Linked DNA regions of Homo sapiens: all the other regions are linked to region 5. Evidence: promoter capture Hi-C in 16 types of primary human blood cells and fetal thymus (Javierre and others, 2016). All regions are on one chromosome and are shown on one strand. Each heading gives the region's core, a stretch centred on a gene start or on the middle of the fragment in contact. The rest is flanking DNA. Distances are from core to core; before and after follow the strand shown.

Region 1 (2,958 bases), core at 412-2,911, 740 kb after region 5:
TGAGATCAGGAGTTCAAGACCAGCCTGGCCAACATGGTGAAAGCCCGTCTCTACTAAAAATAAAAATACAAATAAATTAGCTGGGTGTGGTGGCACGCGCCTGTAGTCCCAGCTACTAGGGAGGCTGAGACAGGAGAATCGCTTGAACACAGGAGGTGCAGGTTGCAGTGAGCCAAGATCGCGCCACTGCACTCCAGCCTGGGCAACAGAGTGAGACTCCGTGTCAAATAAAACAAAACAAACAAAAATATTATGTCTGTCTTGTCTTGTAACGACCAGTCTCACCCATTTTGGTTTCCTTCAGAACCCTGCATGGTAGCCTGCACTTGGCAGGTGCTGGATAAATATTTGTTGAATTGCAATTGGTAACTGATTAGAAAGTGGGGCAGGGGCCAAAAATAACCAAAAGCTTAGGCCTGGGTGATGGGAGAGAGGAGGATGCCAGGAGAAGCTGGTCAAGGTCAAAGAGAAGTTGAATTTGACCTGCCAGCAGGCAATCTAGCTGACATGAAATCTTGGGATGTAGCTAGAAGGGATAGGGGTTTTAAGAAGCACCCTCACCTTCATGCCCACTCCAGCTGGGGAGACAATGGCTGTGTTTAAGAGCACAAATTTTGGGCTCAGAAGTCATTTTCTGGTCAGCCACTAGCCGAGTACCAAGTTATGCTGTCTCTCTGAGCCTCAGTTTTCTCACCTATAAAAGTGGGCTAATGGCCGGGCATGGTGGCTCACACCTGTAATCCCAGCACTTTGGGAGGCCAAGGCGGGTGGATCACGAGGTCAGGAGTTTCAGACCAGCCTGGCCAAGATGGTGAAACCCTGTCACTACTAAAAATACAAAACTTAGCCAGGCGTGGTGGCACGTGCCTGTAATCCCAGCTACTCGGGAGGCTGAGGCAGGAGAATAGCTTGAACACGGGAGGTGGAGGTTGCAGTGAGCCGAGATTATGCTACCGCACTCCAGCCTGGGTGACAGAGCTAGACTCCGTCTTAAAAAAAAAAAAAAAAAGTGGGATAATGTAGTACTTTATCAGGCTATCGTAAAGGCAAAAGTGATGTTAAATGTATTAGTATCTGGGATAAATGACAGCTAGAGTTATTAGTTATTACTCTTCCTAAGGTTAGGAGAAGGAGCATACAGAAGTCACATCACGTCACTTCCCTGAGTAAAGCCAGCCATGGCTCCCTGTGGTGTCGAATGAAATGCAAGCTCCTGCCTGGGGTTCCTCAGGCCCTCTGTGATCACGTTCCTGCTCATCAGTTGTCCAGCAAGTCCTGTCCCTCACAGAGTTCTGCCTGGCTGTCCCCTGAGCACAGCCAGCTGTTTTGCTGCCTTAGGGCCTTTGCATTTCTCTTTTCCTTTGCTCAGAATGTCTTTTGCCAGATCTTGCACGTGTGGCTCTTTTTGGGGGTATTCAAATCAAGATACGGTGTCTTGGCTTCCTGAGGTTTAAGTCTCAGCTAAAACATCACCTCCTCAAATAAACTTTTCCTGACCAAGGCCCCCCGCTGTACCCTCGAGTGCATCCCCGTTTGATACTCTCCACAGTACTTGTCAGGATCTGTAGTGACCTTGGGTACTGTTAATTTGCATGTCTGTCCACCCTCATCCCTGCCCTGCCCTCTTGATGAAGGCACCATGAGAGCGGCAACCTTGTCTGGTTTAATTCTAGATCCCCAGCACCTTGAACAGCACAGGGCGCACAGGAGCCACTCAACAAATACTTGTCAAGTGAATAACCCATACTGAGATGTAGGAGGAGGAGTGATGGTTGATGGGGAAAAGTCCAGAGAGGGTGGAGGAGAAGGGCTCAAAAGTGCAGGTGGAAGAGCTGGTCTTGGCGAGGAGGACCGCTTATTCTCAGACAGATGGAAAGGGGGAGGGATGAGGTTAAGCTGAAGACATTTTGATGTGCAGGGGGCAAGGCTGTTTTGACATTTTCACAAAGTAAAGGGTACAGTCACTTGCTGGGAGCTGAAGGGCAGCAGAAGCGGGTTCTGGGCCTGGAGGCCCATGGAGGGCTTGGGAATAATTGCACTAGCTGCCATTTATTTAGCACTTAGGCACCAGGCACTGTTCCAAGGCCTGGAAATGTAGTATCTGATCTCATCCTCATGATGATACTATGAGGAAAGGTGCTATCATTACTTTTAAGATGTGGAAACACCTTCAATACGTACAATTTGTCTTCTCAATTATACCCAATAAAGCTGGAGAGAAAAGACATGGAAACCAAGGCACAGAGACGTCAATTAACTTTTGATCAGGGTCACACATCTAGAAGTGGCAGAGCTGGGATTTGAACTCAGGCAGTCTGGTCATTAGAGCCTATGTGAAGAACCACTATAGCTTCCTGCCTCCCCAGGCCCCGTGGAGCAGGTACGTGAGGTCATCAAGAGAGGAAGAGGAAGATTGTGGAAGAGTACATGGCAAGCCCAGGGGCAGTCAGCCAGCATGCTATACCAGGAAGCCCAGGAATGAGGGCAGAGAGTCAATGGGACAGGGCGGGTGACTTAGGGTTAGGCACAGCAAAGATGGGGACTGAGGCAAGAAAGAGAGAGGAAGGAGTTTTCTGGGTAAACAGCACATGCAAAGGCCCTGAGGCTGGAAAGAGTTCAGCTCACTGGGAGGAGTAAAAGGACAGTATCAGAGTATATTGGCAGGGGTGAGGAAGGGTTATGGTAGGCAGAGGTCAGATCCTTTAGGGTGGTATTCTCAAAGTGTGGTCCTGCATCAAAATGCTCTTGGGTCCTGATTTAGAATGCAGACTCCTGTGCCTCCTCTCAGACCAACTGACTCAGAATTTCTGGAGCCTAGGAATCTGCTTTTTAACAATGTATCCAGGTGATTCTTCTGCACATGAAGATTTGAGACCCATTGATGCAGGGCCTGGTGGGCCATGGCGAAGCTTAGGTTTCATTGTAAATGTCGCTGAAGGGTTATCAACAGGGGAGGGA
Region 2 (3,113 bases), core at 501-3,000, 550 kb before region 5:
TGAGGCTGAACAAGGACAGTTACCAACTCTTAAATGAAGTGTATTTCTTTTAAAAAAAAAACTTTTTAAAATTTTATTTATTTATTTATTTAAGAGGTGGGATCTCACTCTCTTGCCCAGGCTGGTCTTGAACTCCTGAGGTTAAGTGATCCTCCCACCTGGGCCTCCCAAAGTACTAGGATTATTGGTGTGAGCCACCATGCCCGGCCAAGTATATTTCAAAATAAGCTAGAAACATGAATCCTTAAAAGAGTTGGGGTGGTCCATCTCTCTGCCTCCTGCAGATTAAGGCTAAATTGTGACTTTATCTGTTTCATCACTAGACTAAATTCCACAGTTGGCATAGACTATTAAAACTGGGATATTGGGATATTGGCAATCCCAGCCTGGCCATTTCATGGCAAGCAAGCTGAGGCTAAGAGAGTAGAAGTGACTTGACCAAGATCAAACAGTGAAGAAAATCAGGAGACGTCAGTTCTTCTGACTCCTTATCCAGTGTTCATTCTGTGGTTCCCTTGTCAGCTTTCAGACAGGTGAAACCAAACCTTGCTGTGTGTTCTTTGCAGGAGCTTGAGCTGATTAGACTCTCAGGGTTTGGTGCAAGTTTGATTGATTCAGAAAACATGAAACTTTGTTCTGGTTCAAATCAGCTTGCTAGTTTTTGTTGCTTTCAAACTGTTACAATTTCTGTTTTGTTTGGAATTTAGCAAATTAGTTCTGTGTCTTCCCGTTTAAGTTCATGGTTTGGTTCAAGTTCTTAGTTCTTTGAAATCTTCCACTAGGACTTTTGTTTTTGACAAAAATACTCAGAATCTGGGGTGGCTAGTGATGGAAATTCATTTGAAAAAAATCAGTCAGGCTTGGTGACGGCTGCCGAGGAGGAGCTTGGGTGGTTTAGGGAACCATTAGTGCTTACATTCTGGAGCTTGAAATCGGGATAATGGAAACAGTGCAATGGTTTTTGGTATGCGTGTTTGTTTTTATAAGGATGCTTTCATTGCCCTTCTTGCTAACCTGGGTTGAAACTACTGCCTCCCACCTCATTGCCTTTTGGGACACTCTGTCAGTCATATTCCTCATTTTTTGACTGTCAGAAAGAAGCTAACAAAAAAAAAATCATCTTTCCTGTCCTTTCCCTTTACTTTGAATGGCCCTTCTGAGGAACTTGGGGAATATGAATTTCAAGCTTAAATTTGTGAAGGAGTTTAGTTGCAATGCCCAAAGGGAGAACAGTCCTATTCTGAAATACAGCCTTTGTTCCTTTCTTACCAATGTGGTTTTAAAAGTCACAGGCAAGCCTCCTTTGCTGAACCTGAAATTGGACTGACACCTTCCTTAGTGGGCAGCCATGCTGCCAGTGAGGCTGTGGTGGACGGTAGCAGGGATGAGGCCTCTGGAGAATTGTATCCCACCTGACTCACTTTCTGAATGGCAGAGGAAAGTGAGATCTGGTGCTAGGGCTGTCAGTACCTTTTCAGGCTCTTGACTGTTTCCCTAAGCAGTTGGAAGGCTAGGTTTGCAGCTTTGATGGTTAGGGGGCCACTCCCAATACCTCAAAAGACAAGCACTTTTTATTATAGTAGGTGAGACTTTGGATGATTTCAGCAAGTATGTTTCTGATTAGAAAGCTCTCACTTTAGATTCATTTTCTCTTTTCTCCACCCCTCCCCTCTGTTTCCCTCCTCCTCTCTTGTCTTTTTCTCCCCTTCCCCCTTTCAGCAGCTCACTTGCTCTTAGCTACCAATTACCTGTTATGTGATTAATATTATCCTTTTCCCAATTGGCTTAACATAGATTTTGGATATATATTTTACTGGCATCTTCAGTAGTAGCAATGACGTTCAAAGGGGCAATTAGAAAAAGTTTTCTTTCTTCTTACAAGAAGTAGGATGGGCACTTGTTTGAGGGCACAGATAGCACTGGATGGGACCAAGAGGAGCTGACATCTGATATCCCTGCTCTATCCCCCACCTTTCTTTTGGCTGCTTCAGATTTGGTTCATGTGGACAAACACACTTGGGAACCACCATACAGATGGAAATCAGGACATGTGGGATTTGGCTGAACCAAAGATCCCCAAACATTGCCTGGATCATTTAGTGCCCCAGGTGTGGCCACCCCAGGACTTCATGTGCTAAAATTGTGTCCCAGCTGAAGCCAGCTGGTCACTGTATACATAGGATCAAGGCAGCTTGGAGCCTCATAAAGCATAACTTTGGATTTTTACCTTGTGGATTTAGATTTAGTTAATCACCTTGAATCCTCCCCCAACACACTGGGCAATGAGGATGTAACAGGCAAATAGAAAGCTTGAACAAAAGGAGATGCTCATTATCTAGTAGTTTGCATTCCAGATGGGACATAATGCTAGACCATATGAAGAAAAATGGACTGACTTTCCAGAAAGGAAAGAGAGAATTTAGAGGGCTCCAGTCTCTTTAATAAACTTTTGATGTATTATTTTAAAATTTTCTCAAAAACGTTCCCTGCTATAGAATTTTAAGAGCAAACAGCGATTCCGTCTAATTTAAAAATTGTAAGAATTGAGCAGTGTTTCATGAAATTATATTAGTTCTTTCTTTTTATTTGCCTTATGTGATAGAGGTGCCTCACTTCAATCATTAAGGCAAGATTTGTTTAGGGCATGGTAGTAATAATCCCATACAATTGTATAACCCTTTACAATTTACAAAAGGGTTTTCATACCTATTATCTCATTAGCTGTTCACAGCAATCCTGTGAGACAGTCAGGATAGGTACTATTATCTCCAGTTAACAAATAAAGGGAACTTAGGCTCAAAGAAGTTAAGTGACTTGGCCAGAGTCACATAGTTAGAAAGTTGTAGAACTGGAAGCTGAACCCAGGTTTCCTGATACCCAGCCCCAGTGCTCCTTCGGTTGTATCATGTTTCCTCCCAAAGACACTATCTCCTTTTTGTTCCTACTCGTGATTAATTTTAAAATCCGTCTAAAAATGAGCTTTAGTTTAGTGGATGAGTAAAACTGAAGCACTTACATGTAAAGTGCTTTCTCAAGTCACCTAATGAAGTGGGTCCTGCACATAGCTCTTGGCTTTTCACCTTCATTTTAACTGAACTATTTTTAGGTAGACA
Region 3 (3,084 bases), core at 52-2,551, 760 kb after region 5:
GTTAGATTAGTAAGACAAAGTAAAAACATAGTGAAAAAAACACTACGGACAAATTAACAAGTTATTCCTGTTATTTCAAACTTTTGATATTGTTCTCCCAACAGATATGTCCCCAAGCAAATATAGTTTCTCTACCCATCCCTCAACTTTTTTCATCTCCGTATTTACAACTTAGCCACATCTGGCAAGTTCAAGTCTTGTCTCCTTTCAATTAGTCCATTCTACAAGTAACACCAGAATGTTCTTCCAACTATATCAATTTGCAACCTCATACTAATCAGCAAACCCTTCTGATGGTTCTAGATACCCTCTGGCTCATGCATAAACTTATCTATTGACTTCAAGACTCTCTACCACCTGCCCCATTCTCCCTAACCAGCTTCATACATTCTTATCCTTGATCTTCACTTGTCCCAGGGAAATCTTACAGTTTTTCATACATGGTCTTTTCACTTTCACCTTCTACCCTTTATTCAAGATGTCCTCTAAGCCTGGAAGAGCCTGCTCACCCACTATATTAATAAGTGTTTCTTAAGTACTTGGACTTGACTGAAAATACTTCTATAACTAACTCCAAATCACCTTCCTAGTTCACTTTATTCTTATGTGCTAAACTTATTTCTCAGTCATGTTAATGTTACATGTATCAAATATTCATTAAAATGAAAACAGGCTGATTCTGATTTCTATAGGGATTAGCTGGTCAGTCAATAAGCTTTTATAGCATATAAGGGCTTGAATAAACAACATAGGAAAGGAACCTATTGTTAATACAAACTACAACCTTCATAGCAGTCACTTTAAACGACTTTCCAAAATACTGACTTACCAAGCACACCAGACATTAGCCAGTAAAGGTGGTTAATGTTCAGATTATCTTTAACCAAACTCCCTATTAACCATGACTTAAAGTTTAGCCATATTTTATGTGCAAATATACTTTCATCACCACTAAATTATGGGAACTCACATAAACTCCATAATACTTTGTATCCAGTGTGTAATGAATCAATATTGAGGATTATTTGCTACTTAATATTCTAGTTAATATAACAGAAAAATCTATCTTAATTCTGAAAAACAATAAAGATGATTACAAATGGTAGATTTTCATCCGTTTCCCACTTGTGCTAATCTCAACTATTCTAGGAGTGGCAAAGTCACTATTATGAAAAGGGCTGGAAGGATGAAAAATAATTATGTCAGTTATTTCATTCTGCATTTGGTGGGAAGATGGTGTGGCATAAGGATCTTTCTAAAACAGTGCATAAGGATCTTTCTAAAACAGTACATAGAGAGACAACACATACATTGAACTCGTTTCTGGCTTTACCAAAATTTTAGAGCAAATAATACAACAGAGGGCAGGTACCATTATTAACAGCATCATCTCATGAGATTTGAAATACGATATTGGGTCTTGGGGAAAAAAAACATGAATACTATACCTGAGGAATCATTTCAGAAGGTCAAAATCAAGTCACAACAGAGTGAGAAGGTATTAAAGATGGGATACTAATTGTTTTTAGATTTCTTGTTTACTGCTCCACAGTAATGCAGGTTGAGTATTCCCAATCCAGAAATCCAAAATGCTCCAAAACTCGAAACTTTTTGAGTACTGTCATGATGATCAAAGGAAATGCTCATTGAAGCATTTCAGATTTCCGATTTCCAGATTAGGGAAGCTGAACTGGTAAGTATATAATGCATATATTTGAAAATCTGAAAAAGATTGAAATCTGAAACACTTTTGGTCCCAAGCATTTTGGATAATGGATAATCAACCTGTATAGATAATTTCCTCATCAATGAGATACAGGAATTTAATAACACTGAAATGCAACAGACTGTGAAAAGAACCCTAAATCCTACAAAATAAAAGCTTTAAAAGAAAAATGATGTCCACACACATACAATTTAATAAAAACTCAGAAATTCTGTAATTAAAAATGATCAGGGTTCTATTATTTTAACCCTCAATCACTTGTGCACAAAAAGAAGGAAAAAGGCTTCCCAAAGAGCCATTCATTCCTCTAATGATTTTGGTTCCTTTCTGTTCATGGGCAAACATGGTAAAATTACCTGATAGTATACTTTACATAAAATAAAAACTTTATGAGGGTTGAGCCTCTTCTGGCCAATCCCAGAATATGAAAAACTGCAAAGTTTTTCATATTAATGGCTTTGCAGTTTTTCATATTAATGGCAAAGATATTCTAATATCTTCACTGACTCTGACTAAAAATAAGGGTAGGTTCCTGTTTACATGAAGGTGGAAGGAGAGAGTATAAATGGGATAAGTTTAAAAAAAAAAAAAACAAGAAGGAAACAACCAGAAAAATTTAGGAAATGGTTGACCCTTGACTGGACATTTGTACTGGACTCTTAAAAAAGTCAATGTCACTAAAGAAAGTAGGAACTGTACTACTCCAATAGAGACTTCAGAGACCTCACCAAATACTATATGAACCCAGATTGGATTTTGGTTTAAAAAAAGGTATAACAGAAATTCTTGGGACAACTGAAGAAATCTGAATATGGACCGAATGTTAAATGATACTATGGATTACTGTTAGTTTTCTTATACATAATAATGGTATTGTGCTTAAGTGTGCCCTTTTTGTTAAGAGATGCAGGCTGAAGTGTTCAGTGGTGAAGTGACATATTACCACTAAATTTTACATGACACAGCAAAAAACATCTGTGTGTATATATGTACAGAAGGCATGTGGGGGTGTGTTGTACTGTTCTTTCCATTTTTCTGCACATTTGACATTTTTCATAATAAAAAGCTGAAACAAAGAAAGCTGGGAAATAATGTCTGAGATGAAGGAAAGGGGGTAGGAGAAATAAGAAAAACAACTTCATCATCCAAAATGTATTCTAAAAGGTGAAATACTAAAATCTAAAAGACAGAAATATAATGTTAGGAGAAAAACAATTATCATGAAAAACAGCAGAACGGTAGGATATGAATTTCTGAAGAAAATGGTTCTCTCTCAAACAGAGGTAATATACTCAGTCATGAGGGCTCTGGGGAAATAAGTATAATTCCAAGAAAGAATGCCGGGGCTGGACTCAGTG
Region 4 (3,056 bases), core at 144-2,643, 570 kb before region 5:
ACGAAACTCCGTCTCAAAAAAATCCCCAAAAAACAAACAAAACAAAACAAACAAACAAAAAACCAAATGGGACTTTCCATTTTTTGCAAGGTTTTCCAACTTGCATTAATTCCACAATTTATAAAAATGTCTGTCCTTCAAGAAGCACATATCTACTTCCCAGGGTTACCAGCTCCCTGGTCACCAGTTCTTTCCTTTCTTCTCAATCTCATGTGCTTGCCCTGTCCTTCTTAAGCAAAAATTCTGAGACACCAAGGACATTGCTGGTCCTGATTCAGTAAACGGCCTCTCTTTATGGTTTCTTCCCTGCATCATTCCTACCATTTCACTTGTATGAATCCACTTTTTTAACCTTTTATGACAACTTTATTGATGTATAATTACCAATCACTATCACCACAGGCTGAGCAAACAGTCTCTTAAGCTTGGTCACAGAGCAAGCTGCCAACACTGAATGCAGATCCTGTGTTTAACCCTGACCACCAGCCAAACACCTAACCCAAGACATAGCCTAAACTCCTAACTCTGAACTTGGAGGCTTAACTCCAATTTCACACCAAGCCTTTAACCCTGGCCACAAATGAAGACCCTAATTCTATCCACAAACTGAGCCACTTTCTGGCCACACTCCAAGGTCTTAATCCTGATTAAATCAAGTCCCTAGGCCTAGTTACATACTGACTGTCTACATCTGGCCCAAGAGTAAGTACTTAAGACTGGTCCCAACCTGAATCTCTAACCCTGATCCCCTATTGAACCATAACTATGGCTACTGTATAAGTCCTTAATTCACGATACAGGGATCAAAAATAACATCAGATATAGCCCCTAAGTCTGTCCCCAGGCTGAGTCTCTAAACTAGGCTACAGACTGCATGACCTAACTCTGGGATATACTTAACATCCTGAACTGACCACAAAATGAGTGCTCAGCATAGATACTAACTGAGCTCTAGCCCTGACTACAGACTGAGGCTCTAACTTGGTCACAGCCTGAGATCTGATCTTGGAAACCAACCCAGCTACAATTTCCCAGACTTAGCACTAACCAGAAAATGACCCCAACATTGGCAACAGAATGACTACTAAACTTGGCCTCATACAGAGACGAAAACATGTACAGAGACCAGACTCTAAACTTGTCCCAACTCTGTGCCTTAATCATGGCCAAGAAGTGAAACCAAATCTTCCACAAAACTTGAGAATATTTTGACCACAGCATATGTCCTAATCCTGACTATAGACAGAACCCTGAACATGGCCACAAACTGAGTCTTAACCATGTTCAAAGCCCAAGTTCTAAACCTGGACAGAGACTGGGTTCATAAATCTGATCAGGAAATAATCTACTGATCCTGGGACAGACTGAGCCCTATCACTGGCCACTGATTTGACCCCTAAACCTTACAGCTTCTAACTGGTTACAGACTGCATCTCTAACTCTAGCCATAGACTGAATTCCTAACTCTCATCACAGACTGAGCCCATAAGCCTAACCTCTGACATGAGCTTTCAACCTGAAAATAAATCTGATTTCTCCAAATGGCTAATGACTGATCCTGAATTTTTGAGATAGACTGAACCCTATCTCTGGCTAAATGTTCACCCGAGACTGGATCCCAATTTCAACCACAACTTTAACTTTAACCCTGGCTACCGACTGATTCCTAATACCAGAAATTAAGCTGCTCACCAGCACTGGGCAGAGACTGAACCCAAACCTTGAAGATGAATGAAGGACAAACTAGACAAAGACAAAACAAATACTTTTCATTTTCTTGGCCTAAAACCCTGCAACAGATTTAATTCTAACCCTGAGCACAGACGGAACTCACCATGGCTAAGATCTGAGCCCTCTTCCTGGCCACATTCTGAATACTGAGCTGGGATGAAGACTGTAAGTCCCACCACAGTCTGAGACCTAAAGGCCAAGCCCTAAGCCTGGTTAGAGAAATGATTCCTGACCCTACAAGACTAAATCAAAATCCTGCTCATATTATCAGATCTAACAACAGGCTGAGACTAAGTACTCACCTTTGTCACATATCAAGTCTTAAACCCATAAACAAAGTTCACTGTATTAGTGGCCACAAACTGAGTCCTAGCACTAGCTGGAGGTTGAGCAATCAGTCTGGTCACAAACTTAGTCCTCAATTGTGAATAGATGTACCCATGGCACTGGGCACATTATGGTCACTAACAATTAGCAAAGACTGAACTCTACTACTGATACCGAAATGCCTGCTACACTAAGCCAGAGTCTAAGTGCCAGACTGACAACAGGCAATGAACACTCTGAACTCAAACCCTGGCAACATCCTGATCCCAAAACCCTGATTACAGCCTGAGCCTCTAAAGCTTTCAATCTGGATTTTATGTGTTGTTTGTTCTCATCTCAACTCTATCCACTGACTGACAAATAACATCAACAGCTAATCCAAAAAACCTGTTTACACTCTTAGCCTTAAAACCTTCTTCATAGTAAGCCTTACCTTGGTTATTGGTAACTCCCAAACTCTGGTACAAGTTTAATCAGATAGCACTACCACCAATACTCAGTGAACACAAATGCTACATAAAGTCATAGTGGAATTACTCCCTCCAGACTCAACTCTGATAGTGGTCAAATTGAAATGGCTAATACAGGTCACCGACTGAGCCCTGCTCTGGCCACAGAATGAGGGCCAACACAGGCCACTGTGAGTTAGCTCCATAGAACATTGTTGATATGAGCTATGGACAAAGACAGAATCCTGACACTGGCTAAAGTCAGAAACCACACCTTGAACTTACTCTAGCCAAATATGCATCCCAAATCCTGTTCATATTCATCATTGAAATCCTGGCCACAAACTGTATCATAATTTTGTCCATATATGAAATGCTAACTCTGGTTTGAGACAAGGCTCTAGGGCACATGACAGGTAATGTCCTAACATGGCAACAGACTGAATATTAGACATTGACTGTGCCTTACCATTGGCCACGGACTGAGACTTAATTATTGGACCCAGAATAAACTCTAACCATGAATACGAATTGAAACTTAACCTGAAG
Region 5 (3,268 bases), core at 361-2,860:
GTAGAAATTAGAGATTCTCAGATTCAGAAGGTAACAATGGAGAGCCAAGCAGATATTTATTGAAGGCATGCTAAATGCCCAAACCTGCAATGCACTTTGGGTATAATCATATTTGAAAAACACAGATATTCGTTCTAGCACCAAGACAATATTTACCACTCAACCTGTCTTTTCTGAATAACCAATGAGATGGGACAGAGAAAAAAGTACGAAATACAGTACTTGCCTTTCAAGAGCTTATAATCTGGTGGAAGAAATCAAAGTAGTGCGTTAGAGAAAAATTAAGTACTAAACTGTGTAGTACAAACTTTAAGAGCAAGAGGAGCATAGAAAAGACTACAACCAGCATGGGATTGACTAATTTGAAAATTGCCGAGGTGAGAGAACCTAAATTGAACCTTGAGAGACGGTAGGTACAACCTGGTTAGGTGCAGGTAAGGGAGAGGGGCAGGGAAGAGAGAATGAACAGAAACACAAATGTGGGAACAAGCACAGCATGTAGAAGCAGGCATCAGTATGGTTTGTGCCAAGAAGAAAGGAACCTAACTGGAACAGAGAATTCCCTTGTTGACTGAAACAGTATCAGACAAGAAGTGTGATAAGGAGCATGTTATGTTGAAAGGCTTGAAACCAAGGGGTGGGGGTAGGGGGTGTAGGAGGGGGCTGCATGTTTTGTGTGTGTGTGTTTAACAACGAAGTGACTTGAGGAAATCCACCACATTTTAGCCTATTAGGGCTGCAGCAAACACAGTGGATTACATTACAAACGGGAGAGGCAGGGAGACTAGCTTAGGATGGTGCAAAGTACAGCAGACAAAGATGCTTGTTGGCACTGAGGTTAGAGATAGACTTCCCCAATGAAGACACAAAGAACTCGATGATGTAGGGAATGAAGACGAGGGAAGAGTTCATGATAACGCTAGGCATCTCTAGGCTGGGGGGAAAAACAACAACAACAAGGAATCACTGACAGGAAACCATAAATGTCCCTGCTGTTATCCTGTCTGAGAAACTAATTCATGTTGATAACAGCTGTCATGCCAATCAAGTAACTGAACTGCATTTTAATAGATGCCTTCAATGCCTTGACCTCAGGAGTGACAGGGGGTAGAAACCGAAGGGGAGCATCTTTCAACAGTATCCCTTACACTAATACAATGGAGGTGTTTGCTTACTCCGCTTACAATCACGGCCGCCGTTGCAAACTTCACCCTTAGAAAAATTAGGATTATTCCGGGAAAGATACCCATTCACCCTCTGGGTAGCAGGATCTTGCCAGTTCCTCAGCTGTCAGAGCGAGCTCGTGGAGAGAAGGGAGGCGCCTGAAGAAGGCGGCCTCCCAGGGGGGTCGAGGAAGCAGGGTTCAATCGAAGAAGTAAAACCACCGATGCCAGAAGAGTGAAAGACAGGGAAGGGACTCAGCTGAGGGGAGAGAGAGACCAGAGGACCGTTAAGCCCCTCCCAGGCCGGGAACCAGGCCAGCCCGGCCCCGCGCGGCCTGGCGCGGCCCAGCCCCGCTCCCCAGCCTGGAAGTCCAGGAGCTCCCCCTCACCTGCTCGGGCTCATCGGACGACTGGGAAGCTGAGGCTCCCACAGTCGGAAACGCCACTGCAGCGCCAACCCGGAAGCATTGAAACCAACGGAAGTAACCAAAGCGTTGCTTCGGCAACCGCGGCGCAGCCATTTCAACTCCGCCCCTTCCAAAACTAAAAACAAAGGCGCGAAATAAGAGGCGGAAGCGGCAGAGTTCTAAAGGCGAGGGTCGGAACCACTGCAGGCGCAGAAGCCTAGAGGGGCAACCGGACTTGCGGGAGGTGGAGGCAGGGCAGCTAAGGCGTGAGAATTTGGTAGCTTCCCCAGTTAACGTGCTCGCCAGAGGGGAAAGAGGTGTCGCCTCGTCACCGCGAAACCCACCCACCTGGCGCGTAGAAGGACTAGAAAAGGAAGGGGCCTCGCCCCGGTATCAGGGCTTGAGGAGTGGGTCAAGGGGAGTGGTGGGCGTAGTGCCCTGCGCGCTCAGTACGAAAAAGGCGGCAACGTGGAGGGGGTGGGGCAAAGGCTTCAAAACAAAAGTAGGAAAGTGAGACATAGGGGTGAGCCGAATTTAGTGAGGTGCCTGGGCTCAATGAGAAAATAAAGTTCAAGGCCAGGCGCGGTGGCTCACGCCTGTAATCTCAACACTTTGAGGGTCCGGGCGCATCACTTGATGCCAGGAGTTTTGAGACCAGCCTGGCCAACATGGTGAAATCCCGTCTCTAGTAAAAATGCAAAAAAATTAGCTGGGTGTGGTGGCACGCACCTGTGGTCCCAGCTACTCGGGAGGCTGAGGCAGGAGAGTCACTTGAACCCCGGAGGTGGAGGTTGCAGTGAGCTGAGATCACGCCACTGCCCTCTAGCCTGGGTGACAAAGCAAGACTCCATCCAAGAAAGGAGAGAAAGAGAGAGAGAGAGAAAGAGAAAGGAAGGAGGGAGGGAGAGAGAGAAAGAAAAGAGAAAGGGAGAGAAAGGAAGGGGGGGAGGGAAAGAAGGGAGGGAGGGACGGAGAATGATCCAGACAGCACCTACTGGACGTCAGACATTAACCAGTGAAAAATTACGGTCAGACCCCTTACTCGAAGCTCTTGCTTTAATCAGAAACTTCACTTAAGAAAGAGCAAGTTGGATACCAAAAAGGGGACCACAAAAAGCTAAACAGATGAGGCAGAAAAACACCAACGGGAAATCCCAGTTAATCCAAACCTCATAATCCACCAGAAGATGCCAAGAGTCCGACCCCCAGCTTCCGACTCTGGCCCCTCTGGCTGCTGGAAGGGGAAACCGCAAAGCCCCTGGGTGATTCCATTAGCCAATGTGCTATGACGTCCGATTTTTGAGCTATGACGTCCGATTTTTGAGCCTCTTAACAACGTTCCCTAATCACGCGAGAGTACGCAATAATAGGGTTTATTGCTTATGTGTTATAAGGAAAAGTCAGTGCAAGTTGGCCCTAAATGGTTATTTGTTGAATGAATAAATATTTGGAACTATGTTCTTCCAAAAGGATATTTCTCATTTTAGTTCACCTTGTTTTATTTTGTTGGGTTTTGTTTGTTTTTTTTTGGACAGAGTCTCACTTTGTGGTCCAGGCTGGAGTGCAGTGGTGCGATCTCGGCTCACTGCAACCTCCACCTCCCAGGTTCAAGCGATTCTCCTGCCTCAGCCTCCTGAGTAGCTGGGATTACAGGTGCCTGCTACCACACCCAGCTAATTTTTGTATTTTTAGTAGAGA

The links. The method cuts DNA at HindIII sites, captures the fragments that hold promoters and counts their contacts. A CHiCAGO score of 5 or more calls a contact.
Region 1: a contact is called between a fragment that was not itself captured here and the fragment with the promoter of SLC25A14 in region 5, in 1 of 17 cell types (total CD8 T cells). The highest score is 5.1, in total CD8 T cells.
Region 2: a contact is called between a fragment that was not itself captured here and the fragment with the promoter of SLC25A14 in region 5, in 4 of 17 cell types (non-activated CD4 T cells, activated CD4 T cells, fetal thymus and 1 more). The highest score is 7.2, in non-activated CD4 T cells.
Region 3: a fragment that was not itself captured here is called in contact with the fragment with the promoter of SLC25A14 in region 5 in 2 of 17 cell types (non-activated CD4 T cells and naive B cells); the score reaches 6.1 in non-activated CD4 T cells.
Region 4: a contact is called between a fragment that was not itself captured here and the fragment with the promoter of SLC25A14 in region 5, in 11 of 17 cell types (activated CD4 T cells, total CD4 T cells, naive CD8 T cells and 8 more). The highest score is 9.3, in activated CD4 T cells.

What each region holds. Positions count from the first base shown.
Region 1 is chrX:129,594,624-129,597,581 of GRCh38, reverse strand. No RefSeq gene overlaps it. Among named protein-coding and RNA genes, the nearest start is that of OCRL, 56 kb to the right of the region's middle. The HindIII fragment of the contact is 2,500 bases long and covers 412-2,911 here.
Region 2 is chrX:130,888,155-130,891,267 of GRCh38, reverse strand. The region is part of intron 2 of ENOX2 (ecto-NOX disulfide-thiol exchanger 2); the gene reads left to right. Among named protein-coding and RNA genes, the nearest start is that of ENOX2, 13 kb to the left of the region's middle. The HindIII fragment of the contact is 1,123 bases long and covers 1,189-2,311 here.
Region 3 is chrX:129,577,682-129,580,765 of GRCh38, reverse strand. All of the region lies in intron 18 of OCRL (OCRL inositol polyphosphate-5-phosphatase), which reads right to left. Among named protein-coding and RNA genes, the nearest start is that of OCRL, 39 kb to the right of the region's middle. The HindIII fragment of the contact is 1,167 bases long and covers 718-1,884 here.
Region 4 is chrX:130,907,623-130,910,678 of GRCh38, reverse strand. No RefSeq gene overlaps it. Among named protein-coding and RNA genes, the nearest start is that of ENOX2, 5.9 kb to the right of the region's middle. The HindIII fragment of the contact is 1,933 bases long and covers 427-2,359 here.
Region 5 is chrX:130,338,261-130,341,528 of GRCh38, reverse strand. SLC25A14 (solute carrier family 25 member 14) reads right to left here and starts at 1,610. Exons shown (of 11, transcript NM_001282195.2): 1 at 1,553-1,610; 2 at 1,176-1,422. The coding sequence starts at 1,250. RefSeq lists a silencer at 1,383-1,592 and an enhancer at 1,405-1,978. The HindIII fragment of the contact is 19,423 bases long and covers 1-3,268 here.